2 separate regions of the Homo sapiens genome follow, and region 1 is linked to region 2. The links are contacts of gene promoters, found by promoter capture Hi-C in human tissues and cell types (Jung and others, 2019). All regions are on one chromosome and are shown on one strand. The core of a region is centred on a gene start or on the middle of the fragment in contact, and the rest is flanking DNA. Distances in the headings are between cores, read along the strand shown. Region 1 overlaps LAMA2 (laminin subunit alpha 2). Region 2 holds the start of PTPRK (protein tyrosine phosphatase receptor type K).

What was found. The method cuts DNA at HindIII sites, captures the fragments that hold promoters and counts their contacts. A contact is called where the count stands out against the background at its distance.
Region 1: a contact is called between a fragment that was not itself captured here and the fragment with the promoter of PTPRK in region 2, in 1 of the 25 tissues and cell types used here (dorsolateral prefrontal cortex).

What each region holds. Positions count from the first base shown.
Region 1 is chr6:129,238,665-129,244,960 of GRCh38, forward strand. All of the region lies in intron 12 of LAMA2 (laminin subunit alpha 2), which reads left to right. Among named protein-coding and RNA genes, the nearest start is that of LAMA2, 360 kb to the left of the region's middle. RefSeq lists a silencer at 1,309-1,518. The HindIII fragment of the contact is 5,674 bases long and covers 1,500-6,296 here.
Region 2 is chr6:128,517,517-128,523,990 of GRCh38, forward strand. PTPRK (protein tyrosine phosphatase receptor type K) reads right to left here and starts at 3,083. Exons shown (of 30, transcript NM_002844.4): 1 at 2,743-3,083. The coding sequence starts at 2,842. RefSeq lists enhancers at 2,257-2,850, 2,851-3,445. The HindIII fragment of the contact is 5,372 bases long and covers 1,381-6,474 here.

The sequences.
Region 1 (6,296 bases), core at 3,087-5,586, 720 kb after region 2:
GATGCACTATAGTATCACCAAAGTAACAGTGTGAACTTGAACAATTTAACCTCTTAGAGCCACGATTGCTCCATCTATACAATAGAATAATAATAATAAACCTACATTATACAATTTCCGGAGATTAAATGAGGATAAAGAGTACTTTTGAAATTCTAAAGTTCCATGAAAATGTTAGCTTTGATTACATATGGTTCAGCAATTGGGTCTCCTTATTTTTTGAGATCTACCTTTTTTTTTTGTATTATCTGTAGCTTGCTAAAATAACATACCAGATGTTTTTGTTTTCAAATTTTAAAAATCCAGATCATACTGATTTGTTGCCATGGTATAGTAGTCAGAGAATCTTGCTCTGGGCAGTTACAATATTTTGGAGATTGTTTTACATAATAGCAACAATAACAGGAACAATGATAACTGCTAACTTGTTTACATTTACAAAATGTCAAATACTATTCTAGATTATTCAATTGAATCATCACAACAACGCTATGAGGTAGTTACTGTTATATTGTTTTGATTTCCCTGATGGAGACTTGACACAAAGAGAGACTAAGTAATTCACTCCTGTCACACACAGCTAAAAAGTGGCAGAGCTGAGTGTTTTGCCCCAGGTAGTCCAGTTCTAGAACTGTACTCTTTTCCACTATGCTATACCATCTTCCTAATACTATCTGTACAAGAAATTTTCTCCTAATGAAATGTATTGCTGTACCCTATATAAGCTTTAGCTCTAAAATTGCAGAGCAGGAAGCAGGTGGATAAAGCTAATTGCTATTCTATTACCCTACAATAGAAATTTCAGTGGACTAACTCTAATATTTAAATAACCCACTGTTAATAAACTGGCATGGTGCAATTGCATGTTTCCCAGTGAGATCAGATCTAGTCCAATGTCTCAGCAGATATAGGAATTCCTTTTCTATCACCCCAGACAGGTGGATCTCTACTCATGTATCTTCAGAGAAATGGATACCCTACAAAGCAGCACATTCCATTTTCAACAGCTCTAGATATTATTTTATTTATTTATTTTAGATGAAGTTCTGCTGTGTTGTCCAAGCTGGTCTCAAACCCCTGGGCTCAAGCAATCCTCCTGCCTCAGCCTCCCAAGTAGCTGGAATTATAGTTGTGTGCCACTGCATCTAGCTCCAGATTTTAGAAGTTAATTCTTACACAGGGTTTTCTGGAGGGACAGAACTAATAGGATTGATGTATATATGAAGGGGAGTTTGTTAGGAGAATTGGCTCACATGATCACAAGGTGAAGTCCCACAATAGGCCATCTGCAAGCTGAGTAGCAAGAAAGCCAGTTCGATTCCCAGAACCTCAAAATTAGGGAAGCCAGCGGTGCAGCCTTCAGTCTGTGGCCGAAGGCCCGAGAGCCCGTGGCAAATTACTGGTGTAAGTGCAAGGGTCCAAAAGCTGAAAAACTTGGAATCTGATGTTCAAGGGCAGGAAGCATCCGGCATAGGAGAAAGATGAAGACTAGAAGACTGCGCAATTCTAGACCTTCCACGTTCTCCTGCCTGCTTTATCCTAGCCACGCTGGCAGCTGATTAAATGGTGCCTACCCAGAATGAGGGTGGTTCTGTCTTTCCCAGCCCTCTGACTCAAATGTTAATCTCCTTTGGCAACACCCTCACAGACACACTCAGGTACAATACTTTGCATACTTCAGTCAAGTAGACAGTCAATATTAATCACCACATTCTCCAACGCTTTCTCATACAGGTTCTATTTCTCCACTATGAACAGTGAGATTTTTTTTCTGGTATACTTGATAGGCCTTCAAATGTTCCAAGAAAACAATCATGCTTTTCCTAAGTCTTCTCTTTTTAAATACTCCCATTACCTTTCCAAACCTTTTGTTCAGCTGTTGGGACCATCAACATCCTGGTCACACCTCTATGGATGAAGTCTAATTTGTCAACTACTCTCTTAAATGGTGGTGTCATGAATTGATCACAGTGCTCTGGATGTGCTCTGACTAGCTATGACTGCTCCTGGATCGCCGTTTCCTTTAATCTATACACTATGTGTCTTCCTAATACAGAGAGTATGTTGTTTGCCTATATATCATAACAAATTGAAAATGCATTTATAACTTATAAAGTATATATTACTAGGTGCTAGAATTTACACTATTATCCTAATATACAGAAGCTGGGAAAAGTAATGCCATAGAGTTGATTTATGTGTGTAAATGTCTAAGTGACTTAAATATTGATTTTTCTCCTTCAACTGCAGATCAAACTTCCCAAACACTAAAGCTTCCTTATTTTAAAACAAATGCATTTGTGGTTCACCAGTCTGCAGTACAGTAAGCTTTTTATAGGTAAGCTCAAATCACAGAAAAGCTCAAATAGATACATCTCCTTTAGCCTATTTTTAGGACTGATAAAGCTAAGAACAGAGAAACCAATAAAGACATATTTTAATGATGGCAGGGTATCTCATGGGGTAGTACAAATTTATCCCAGTTTTTTATGCCTTCTCTATGTGTAATACATTGAAGTGATATATGGTGTTGAATGTGATTAAAATTCAGCAGATACTTATGCAAGATCTACTATCTATAAGATGCTTATGCAAAATTCCATAGGGAAACATTAAGACGTGAATAAAATCTGAATTGGGCCATCACTATGATCTCTCCCCAAAACGTGGGATTTTCAAGTGCATTTAGAATTATGAAATAAACCACTAGGTTTTTAGTGTGAAATGTTTACAGTATTTTAATTTTGAAAACTATACTTATTAAAACAGTATGACAACATTTATTGAATACATGTTATGTGCTAGGTACCAAGTGGGGAGTTTTATGTTTATTTTCTCATTTCATCCTAAGAGCAAACTTCGGAGGTAGGTGTGATTCGTCTCATTTTAGTGAAAATTCACTGATGCTCTGAAAGCAAAATTAACTTTCCCAAGGGCCTTGTAGTGCTTAAAGGCAGAATCAAAATCCACAACCAGCTCTGGAAAATCTCCAGAAATGAGCTTAATTTTTTGTGTGATTTATATATGACTCCAATATTAACAGACATGTCAAACAACTAACACAACCCTTTACCTGTTTATTTTGGAAGAAGACACTTAAAATGTATTTTATTACCCTGTTGATTCTCCTCTGGAGTGTGACTTAGTATCCATTGCACCTTTGGGATTCTTATCTTCTAAAATTCACAACCACTTTCTACTGCTGTAAGAAAGAATCACCTGCAGAGTTCACGAATGAGGGAAGAGTGAAAAGGGAATAGTGGCAGATCAATACCACTTGGCATCACATCAAAATAGTATTCCAAGGTTGGTGTTCTGGCTTCTGCTTTTCTGGGAAATACGTTGTCTGCTATTTCAAAATGCCCTCCATCTGAATAATGTAACCTGAAATTCATTCAACTCATATTTAGCACTTTAGGCCATATCCAGGGTTGTGGAAGGTGTACGTAAGCAATGAGGATTGCCTACAAGGCAAGATGAGAACTCTGTTTTCTATACTTTCTATTGTTCCTCCCTTTGCAACAGAAGTAGAAAGGGCCATACCATAGCCATCTACTGTCCAACATGATGAATATCCTTAAAGACAAAATCTTTAAGCAGTAAGTGAAAGGTTAACTACAATTCTCATTTAAAAAGAAAATTGCATTGCTGATATCTCTTTGTTACATAAATTTTCCACAAGGATTATACATTTTCTTTTTATTCATTTGTTATCTATTTGACAATAGCAAGCCTGTTTCTCTTTAGCTTAAAGGAACTTGGATTAAAATTTTTTCTGTTATTTTAATCAGCATTGATGTTGTATATTATGAGCGTGTGGCTTTTTGTTTTCTTGGCAGAGACCTTGAAAAAATTTTGAACCCTAGTCAATAAGAAATCTCTGTATTAATATAAAACTATAACTTATGGTTTATTTGATTAGATCAATGTTTAATTATGGATAACATGTATTTTTTGCACTGAATATTTACACACAAATTAATCTAGCCCATAGTAAAAGTGCTAATGGAATGTTTCATCCAAACATAAGTTAGTAAATGGAAAACAAACAGCTGTTGCAAAGACCCTGTTTTTGGGTCTGGGCCTAACAGCACGAAGCACTTCAGAGAATTTCACCACTACCATTTACTCACATCTGTTGAGATTGTACTATTTCAACTCAAGATTTGATCAGTGTATGTCATAAAGTAACAAGTAGTACGCTAAGTCAGAAAACTTAAAGGAAACATTAAATACTCATTTCCTATATGGAATGTTGCCTTTCTAAGCACATCATCTTCTTCTATGTGATGTTTTGCAAATCTATTCATAGGAGATTTATATTTTCAAGTGTGCTCAAATGGATCTGTGTTGGGGAAAGATACGTGAAATAAGAAAATAAAAGCTAATCCATTTGTTTTAAAATTTTGTCTGCCTACCACATTTTGTTGGACTTCTTGTTATATGAGAACTCCTAATTGTCTGGTTTTCAATTGCAGCCAAAAGCATTCTTACCTGATCAAACTCTTCAAATTCTATTTACTTTGAATTATAGCTGAGTACATGGAAAGTATAATTGGGCCTTACTTTGTTACACAGCAGACAAAACATATGCTCAAGATAGGTCAGTGCTATTCCAGTGAATAAACATTTTAACAAAAATTTGTATGAGAAATTCATGTTGGCCTCTCATTCCTCTCTATATGCCTTTCACAGTTACTCTTTTTCCCCTTGCCAATCAAAACACTATAATGAATATCTCTTGGCCTTAACGATAAGAAACACTGTATATAAATATTGTCTAGGCTGTATTTTATGAGAATGTGGAGTTATATGAAATGTAGGAAGAAAAAATATGAGTGAGTAATCCTGTGAGCAGTGGACGGGCTGAGCTTCTAGGACACTGATAAGCAATCAGTGTTAGTTACACTTGAGGCAGTATCTCTGGTGGTCTGTTCCAGAACTATGTCCTTGACTCTGTCACATTCATACTTTTCATCACTACTTTTTATACTTCTGCAATTTAGGTCACCCAATACAGGTTATCTTATCAGGTTAAACTGATTGTAGTGGTCACATTGAAAAAGAAAAAAAAAATCCCAAATTCAGGACTTTTCCCAACCAGTTCTAATTAATGCACGTGTGAAAGGACATAGTTATTGTGAAAAGAAATGCTATCAAAACAGTCTAATGGCTACAAGAAGAAAAAGAAAAGAAGAAGAAGAAGGAGGAGGAAGAGGAGAAGGAGATGAAGAAGAAAGCTAAGGAGAAGATGGGTAACAGGAAAAAAAGAGGGCAGGAAAAGCAGATAGGAAGGAAAAAAAAGGTGGAAGAGAGAAATGAATGCAGGCAGGCAGGATGTTTTCCTCGAGGTTTTTTATTTATATCCCCTGGACTGCATAACTCAGTTTATTCCCTTCTAAACCAACTTTTCTAGAATGTGTTGTCTCTGTTCGACACCTACAACTCTGGTTCATTTTCTATGCATTAAGGATGATGTAACTTTAAAACCTCTCATGTAAATTCTGCCTGTTTTCTAATTCTACAATCCTCTTGTTTATGTTCTATTCTAATAATTATCGAGCTTTTAAAGAAGAGAAATCTGTTCTTAACTCAAATTTATACATACACTGAAGGAAATAACAAAACCTTGAAGTAAAACACTGTTTCTATGATAAAAGAGAGCTCTACAAATAGATGCATGAATAAACACTTCTATGGGAGGGATACCTTTTCAGAGTTTAAGGCTCGCGGGCTTTGGGATCTAAGAAGATGAATCGCTTGCCCTGTTTGTGATCCTAAATGGAAATTGACAGATATGTTTAATTTATCCTGCTCAGTATTATAAAGCCTTTTTCTCATTTGATTTTTGTGTATCCCTCCTGAAATATTTGCTCTGGTAAGCAAAAGCAAATATTAGGTTTTACACTCCATTTAGTGAAATAACAGTGATGATAATCTGACATCAGAGAACCAAATGTTCCAGGCTTATTTCATGAAAAGGATTTCCTCTCCAGAAACATTATCCTCAATAGGTTATCCCATCCTTCATTCCTCAATTCATATTTCTTGAGATTGAGAGGGAAAAAAAAAGAGGCCAGACCACAAGTAGCCTACTGCTAAATTCTTTTATGAAGCTTAGTTTTATGAATTACCTTTTAGCCTTCTCCAGTCATGTGGGAAAACTTTCCTGCCTCATTAAATCTTTAATGCAATGTGCACCATGCACACTGTATTGTTATTTGTGACATTAGGTTATATATTGCATAGTAACTATAATATTACTTGCAAACAAGCTGGTTTTTCCCCCTGAAGGT
Region 2 (6,474 bases), core at 1,833-4,332:
TGAAACTGAAAGAATGTATGAGTTGGGATTTACAGAACGTTCTGGTTTTAAAGAGGCTCACAGTGCAGCAGTTTTACACTTTAACTGCAAAAGCTAAGAAAAAAGTCACAATAATGAAAACACTCTTACATTTTTGGTTTAAACAAAGAAAACTGAATAAGTATATGACACATCAAAGTCCCAACAATGCTCAGCCTTTCAAAATTTGCTTTTGAAGCTTACTACATTAGGAACCACATGATATCGGAAAGTAAACTGATCTTAATGAGTATGATTTGAAAGACATACTTCAGATATTTTTAAATTCTCAACATGAATTTGTCTTGGACTTTTAAAGTGGGTTTATTTAAATTTCTCAAAAGGAATAAAAGTTCACTAGTTAAAGTAAAATATAAGAAAAACCAGCAATATGGAATACACCTCCAATCTTCAATACATCTCTAATCTATGTCTGCAACAAATCTGACTGCCATAGAATTTTATGACAATAAAATATCAAATGATTTATGGTAGCCAGAAAAAAAAGGAAGTATTTACAAAACAAACTTATAATTTGTGGAGAAAGGCAAATCCACAATCTGACTTTAAACTCTGGGAATAAAAGACATTCATTTCTGGGCATACATTCCTAAAGGGCAAAATCTTGAGATGCAATCCTGTGATTACTGTACTTTTTAGGAATGCACATTATATTAATTAAATATACAACATCATGTCAAATGTTATGCTTTGTCACTAAAGAAAAGCCAGGCATATTTAGTTAAAGTACTTAGAACTAGATATCTAAGAACACAATTGTTTATTGTACGTATCTAAACTCCAGGTATCAGAAAAGCTCATTTTCACATTCAGCTGGAGGAAAAGTAGTATTTATTTGTTAATTAAAGGGTAAATAACATTTAAAAAGAGAAAAAGTTTTCTAACTGCTGAAAATATATCCATCGCTGTTGAGACATTAATAGTTGCAACTCTTGAATACATGTAAGTTTAATTATGCAACTGGTAGAGTTCAAACTTTCAATTAACAAACTACAAGCCTTTTCAAGCGTAGGCTCTCCGTGCAGTGACAAACACTGTGCAGAAATCAATACTCACTCCAACTTGCCTGCATATAATGAGTTACATCAAGCACGGTTTCAATGCTAACGGGCATTATATGTCAGAAATGCATGCAGTAATGCTTACTCCAGAAAGAATTCAATTAAACCATTGGATTATTTTTTGCATAGAGCTGTTACCCTCTGCGTACATCAATTATATACAGGGCTTTTCCTCTGCGTGCTGCCATTTCATAATCTCTGCCTGAATGTACGACACATGCTGCCACCTGAATCTGTTGTTTAACTCCCTTTACAGAGTTCTAAATGGGGCGGGGGTAGGAGAGCAATGGAAGGGAAATAAACGATTACTCCAGAAAACAACAATTTGAGTTTATTTCCAGGAAACAGGGCCTCCACAACAACGTGAGAAACTGTCAGGTACAAAGTAAGTTATTTGCGTCCTGCGGCTTCAGCCAGGAGCGTGGCTGTCGCTTTTCCCGTCTTCTCCATCACCCTCTGGCCACCACTGCGTCTCCATCTGCACCGCGAACCCCAGCAGCAGATGCGCTCGCCAGCCAAGCGAAGCTGGGTAGGTTGGCCAGAAAAGTTGTCAGGACTGGCGGGAGGTAGACAAGTGCTCGGGAGCCCGCTCCCCAGCGTCCACCTGGTGAAACTTCAGAGCCCCCAGAGGAGAGAACGAAAGAAGCAACCAACCTACACGAAGGATAACAAAACTGGAGGGGAACAGAGGGCGGGACCGGGAGAGCCAGGGTTCACGGACTTCTCTGAGCGGCTTGACCGAGAACCCCCAGGGCTACAGCGAGACGCTCCACTTGTCTCCTTTTGGGTTCTCCGGCAGAAGGCAGACATTTACAGTCCGCTTCCAGCCCCAGGCCGGATCCGGGGAGCGCGGGGCCAGAGCCCCAGGCCGGATCCGGGGAGCGCGGGGCCAGCCTGGCGGTGGTTTTGCCCGAGGAGCGGGCTCCCACGCGCGAGTCAGGCTTCCTCCACCAGGCGCCCAGACCTCGATGCCCATGAACGCTCAGAGTGGGTCCTTAGAACCGCATTTCAACACATCTTACAGGGCTCCGCCAACACACACACAGAACATGCTCCAAGCAGTGCCCGAGCGCACAGGGCAAGCCCGGGAGCAACCCAGAGCTGGGGGAGGAGAAAAGGGGACTCCGGGAGGGACGGGGAAGTAGTTAGACAATAGTCAGGGGAGGTTATTCCCGGGACAAAAAGCACCTGGCAAAGCGCGCCGAGGTCAGTCCCTTCGAATCTCCACATTTCTGACAATGGCTTCCCAGGGAATTTGTTTAAACACCCAAGTGGCAGACAGCAACAAACCCGCACCACAAGCAACAGAGTGCCGTCACGGGAGTCGTAACTACTTTTTCTTTCTCTCTTCCCCACTAGCCCGGCGCAGGCCACGCGAGACGCCGAAGCCAGCAGGTCCCCACACTCTCCGGCTAGACCGTGCCAGCCTGAGCCCCGAGCAAGCTTCGGAGAGGAACAATGGGTGCCCCGCGTCCCACCTGGCACGAACTCTGGGGACAGCCCTCCCTCTACCCTGTGTTCCCCACCCCCGGACAGAGAGAGCTCCCCACGATCCTTGTCCCCAGCCCTAGCGGGGACCTGGCTCACCCCTCGTGAGCCCAGGACTCCAGGCGTTCGTCGGGGACGCCCCCCGGCCACTCACCTGCGGAGAACTGGCCTTGGGCCGATCCCAGGAGAGGCCAAGGAGAGAGGAGCAAGAGCGCCACAAAAGCAGGCAGCGCCGCCGCCGCAGTCGTATCCATGCCGAGTTTGGGAGAAGTTTCAAGCAGCTTTGCAAAGAGCTGCCGGGGGGATCGCCGCGAAATCCACGACGGAGGAGCGGGCCGGGCCTCGCGGGGTGAGGACGGTGAGAGGACAGCCGCCCGCCCGCCCTTTTTCCTTCTTCGCGGTCGCCAAACTACCTCAGGGGCGAAAGCGTCGCCAGCGTCGCCGGCCGGCCGCGGCGGCAGCTCTCCATGCTCGGCGGAGGCTGCTCCTGTTAGTCAAGAGTTACTTTGCTCGGGGAGGGACGGGGGCGGAGCCGGGGGTGACGTCGCCCCGCGGGCTCCGGGCGCTTCTGAGGAATGCGGGCTCGGGCGCGGCGCCGCCACCGCCTCCTGCCGGAGAGACGCGCGCCAGCCCCGGCCGCGCGCCCCGCGCCGCCTTTGTTCGCAGCCTGGGCCCCGCCGCCAGCCGCTGCTCGGAGGGAGCGAGCGAGAAAGGGGAGCCGGCGCAGCTCGCTGCCCTGTTCCAGAACTCAGAATTTGAGAGGCGAGAGTTCGGTAAGCCGTGCGACCAGACGACCGAGGACGCGCGCAGAGAAACCCCCGCCGTCCGAGGAGAGGCGTCCTGGGGTTCCGTCCCAAGGTGGAGGTCCCCCCGAGCGGTTGCTGATTGAAAGGGGAGTGTGGAAGCGCCCTGAGGAAACACCCGCCTGCCTTGAAAACTCCCCGTTCCTTATTCTTGTAATAAGGAATAAGACACCCCACCCCCATCGAAAACTTGTCCCTTATTCATAGAATAAATAAAACTTGAACCAGAATAAACGATCAGTAACTTTCCAGCGTGAACAGCTGGCGTGTCTCCTTTCTGGTTTATTTGTCATTGGCCAAGTATTTGGATTTACTCTGCTTCACTGACTTTGCTTGTTGCTCTGAAACCCTCCGGCCCCTTTCCAGTTCTCACCTAAGAACTGCATCAGGGCTTATTATCCCTTCCTTGCACCTAGGTCTGGTGTGTGTGTGGTTTTGTTTTTTTTAATATCTAGTAGGTAGTTAAGACATAAGTATTTAACAAAAGGACTTTTACACTGACCATGAAAACAGCTTCTTCGGAATGATTCATCTGGCAGAAAATAATGCTATATTATGACAGTAAAATATTTCACAGTTAACTACTTCAGCAGCTTGAAGTGGTTTCGCCATATGCCACCCTGCCTTACTTCTGTGGTAAGACTGTATGGTGCATACTTTATTCATTTTTGTAAAATGTCACAAAAAATAGGTATGGTCACAATTGAATAACATAATAACTTTGATTCAGAATTTTTATGTGTTATGTACAATTGCTAAAACAATAGTCTGTTGATTGACATCTCTCAGTTTCTCAGACATCTTAGCCTTTGTAAATCAAGACAATGTGAAATTCATTTTAATATAACATTCACATAATTTACCAAGCCACATATTCTTTTAATCAAATATATGCTATTAATGACCAGACTTATGACAGAGCCTGTGGAAACAAAAATGTAATAAATATACACACAAATATATACATATATAAATACATATTATACACACATACATATCAGGCAGAAAAGACTTTTAAAAATTCTATGAGAATAGTAGCCTGCTCATTAGCACACTGACTAGCTCAACCCTTGTCAATTCAGTTCAGCATAGTTAAGTTCATCCTTCCTTAGGGTGCAATGTAGATTTTTTTTTTTTAACTCATTAACCTATACCTTTCAACACACCATCACCATTCCATTTCTTTAATTAGAGAACATTCCTAGATCCCAGGTAACAAAAAACTGAGGGACATATTTTTCTTTTTGAGGACAGCAGAACTTCCTAAAATTTAGCAGCAATTTTTCCCAGTAAAAACAAACAAAACCCTACTGTCTGTATACTAATTCATCTGTTCTACTCTTGTAAGAAATGTAAAAGAAGTTCATGACGTGGTAATTTGTTTGTTTAAACACACAAACAAAAAACTTCTTTAAATATTTTCACACAGTGCCAGGACAAAGTGCACACAATTCTTACCTTGCCCATTTTGGGGGACAGCTGATAGAAGATTCATTTCATGAAACTTTATTAATTTCTCTATCATGGAAGTAATAATAATAGCAGGTAATGTTTAGAAAGTTCTTCAAATGTTCTAGGCACTGTCTTAGAGTATACAATGTCACACTGAGACATCAAGATTTTCAGTGTTTCATTGAGTTCAGTCAACAATTCCGTGAAGACTTTGGTACAATTATTCCCATTTGACAAATAAGAAAACAAGGTTATAGATTAAGTAACTTACCCAAAGACACATACTTAAGTGAGAAGTGGGGGAGGCGATGCAAAGAGAAGAAAGGAAATTCTCAAAAGAAATCAGCAAACCAACACAGATGGTTTCTCACTAAAAATCAAAAGCATGCAATAAAACTTTTAGGTAAGTACATTATTCCTTTTGTGCATAACTAATGCGACCAGTATGGATTGAAATCACTTGAGTAGAAATCTGGTGGGTCTTCTACATAGCTAAGTGCGTGGCAAATATTAGGAATTAGTAGATTTTTGTTTGTTTGAAAGAATAAATGAATACATGAATCAATAGAAGTATAAATTTGGTTAAACTTTTAGGAAAAGAAATCATCAGCCTGCATTAAAAATCACTAAAATCTTCCTATTCTTTAGTCTAGAAGCTATTGCAAGTAAATAATCCAAAATATGAAAAATGTTATTTAATATGTTTATCATTTCAAAAGAGAAAGAATATAAATATTCTACAATAGGCAGATTCATAAGCATTATATGGTAGAATATCTCATAGCCACTAGAAATGAAAGTTATGAAAAAAGTAAATTGCAAGATGGAAAAATGCTTATGATCAAATGTTGGGTAAAATCATCAGAAGACAATACAGAGTTTCAGTTTAGAAAGATAAAACTGTTCTGGAGAGGGATGGTGGTAATAGTTGCCTAACAACATGAATGGACTCAATGCCACCAAATTACATACTCAATAATTGTTAAAATGATAAAGTTTATGCTATGTATATTTTACAACAATAAACAAAAACAGAAGACAAAGGTCTTTGTACTATAACCAAGAAAAAAAGAAGGCTGAAAAAAATTACAAAACATAGTATTAATATAGTTAGCAATAGATGTAGTATACTAAAATTTTATGGGAGCTCTTCTCTATTTTCCTATTGTTTTGGCCTATGGTTACATTATTTCTTTTAAAAGAGGACAGCTTTGTGTTCTGATTGCAGATCTACCACACACTAACTCCAATCATAATCTTAGATCTGCATTTGGCAAGTGTTTTCTGTAGAATCCCAGTTCTATCAGATTTAAATAAGTATAATTCAAAAATACAGCCTCAAGATTAAATTAGCTCGGAGAACTCTGGACTGAGCAAAGTTTAACAGATTTCTTCAATATAGCAAGCTTCTTTATTATAGAATCTTTCCCATGGTTTCCGATATGGTATCATGTGCTATAAGTCTATTGGAGAAGGAAAAAGAATTCATTGTTTCTCAAAGTTTTGGACCATAGAACGCTTTAATAGAGGAGTAGGTCTCAGGACCAGGGTTCCAGGGAACAGAATTTGGGAACATTGCATTAAACAACATTTAATACCACCGTATCTTAATTTCCTTTTTGTGAAAATGA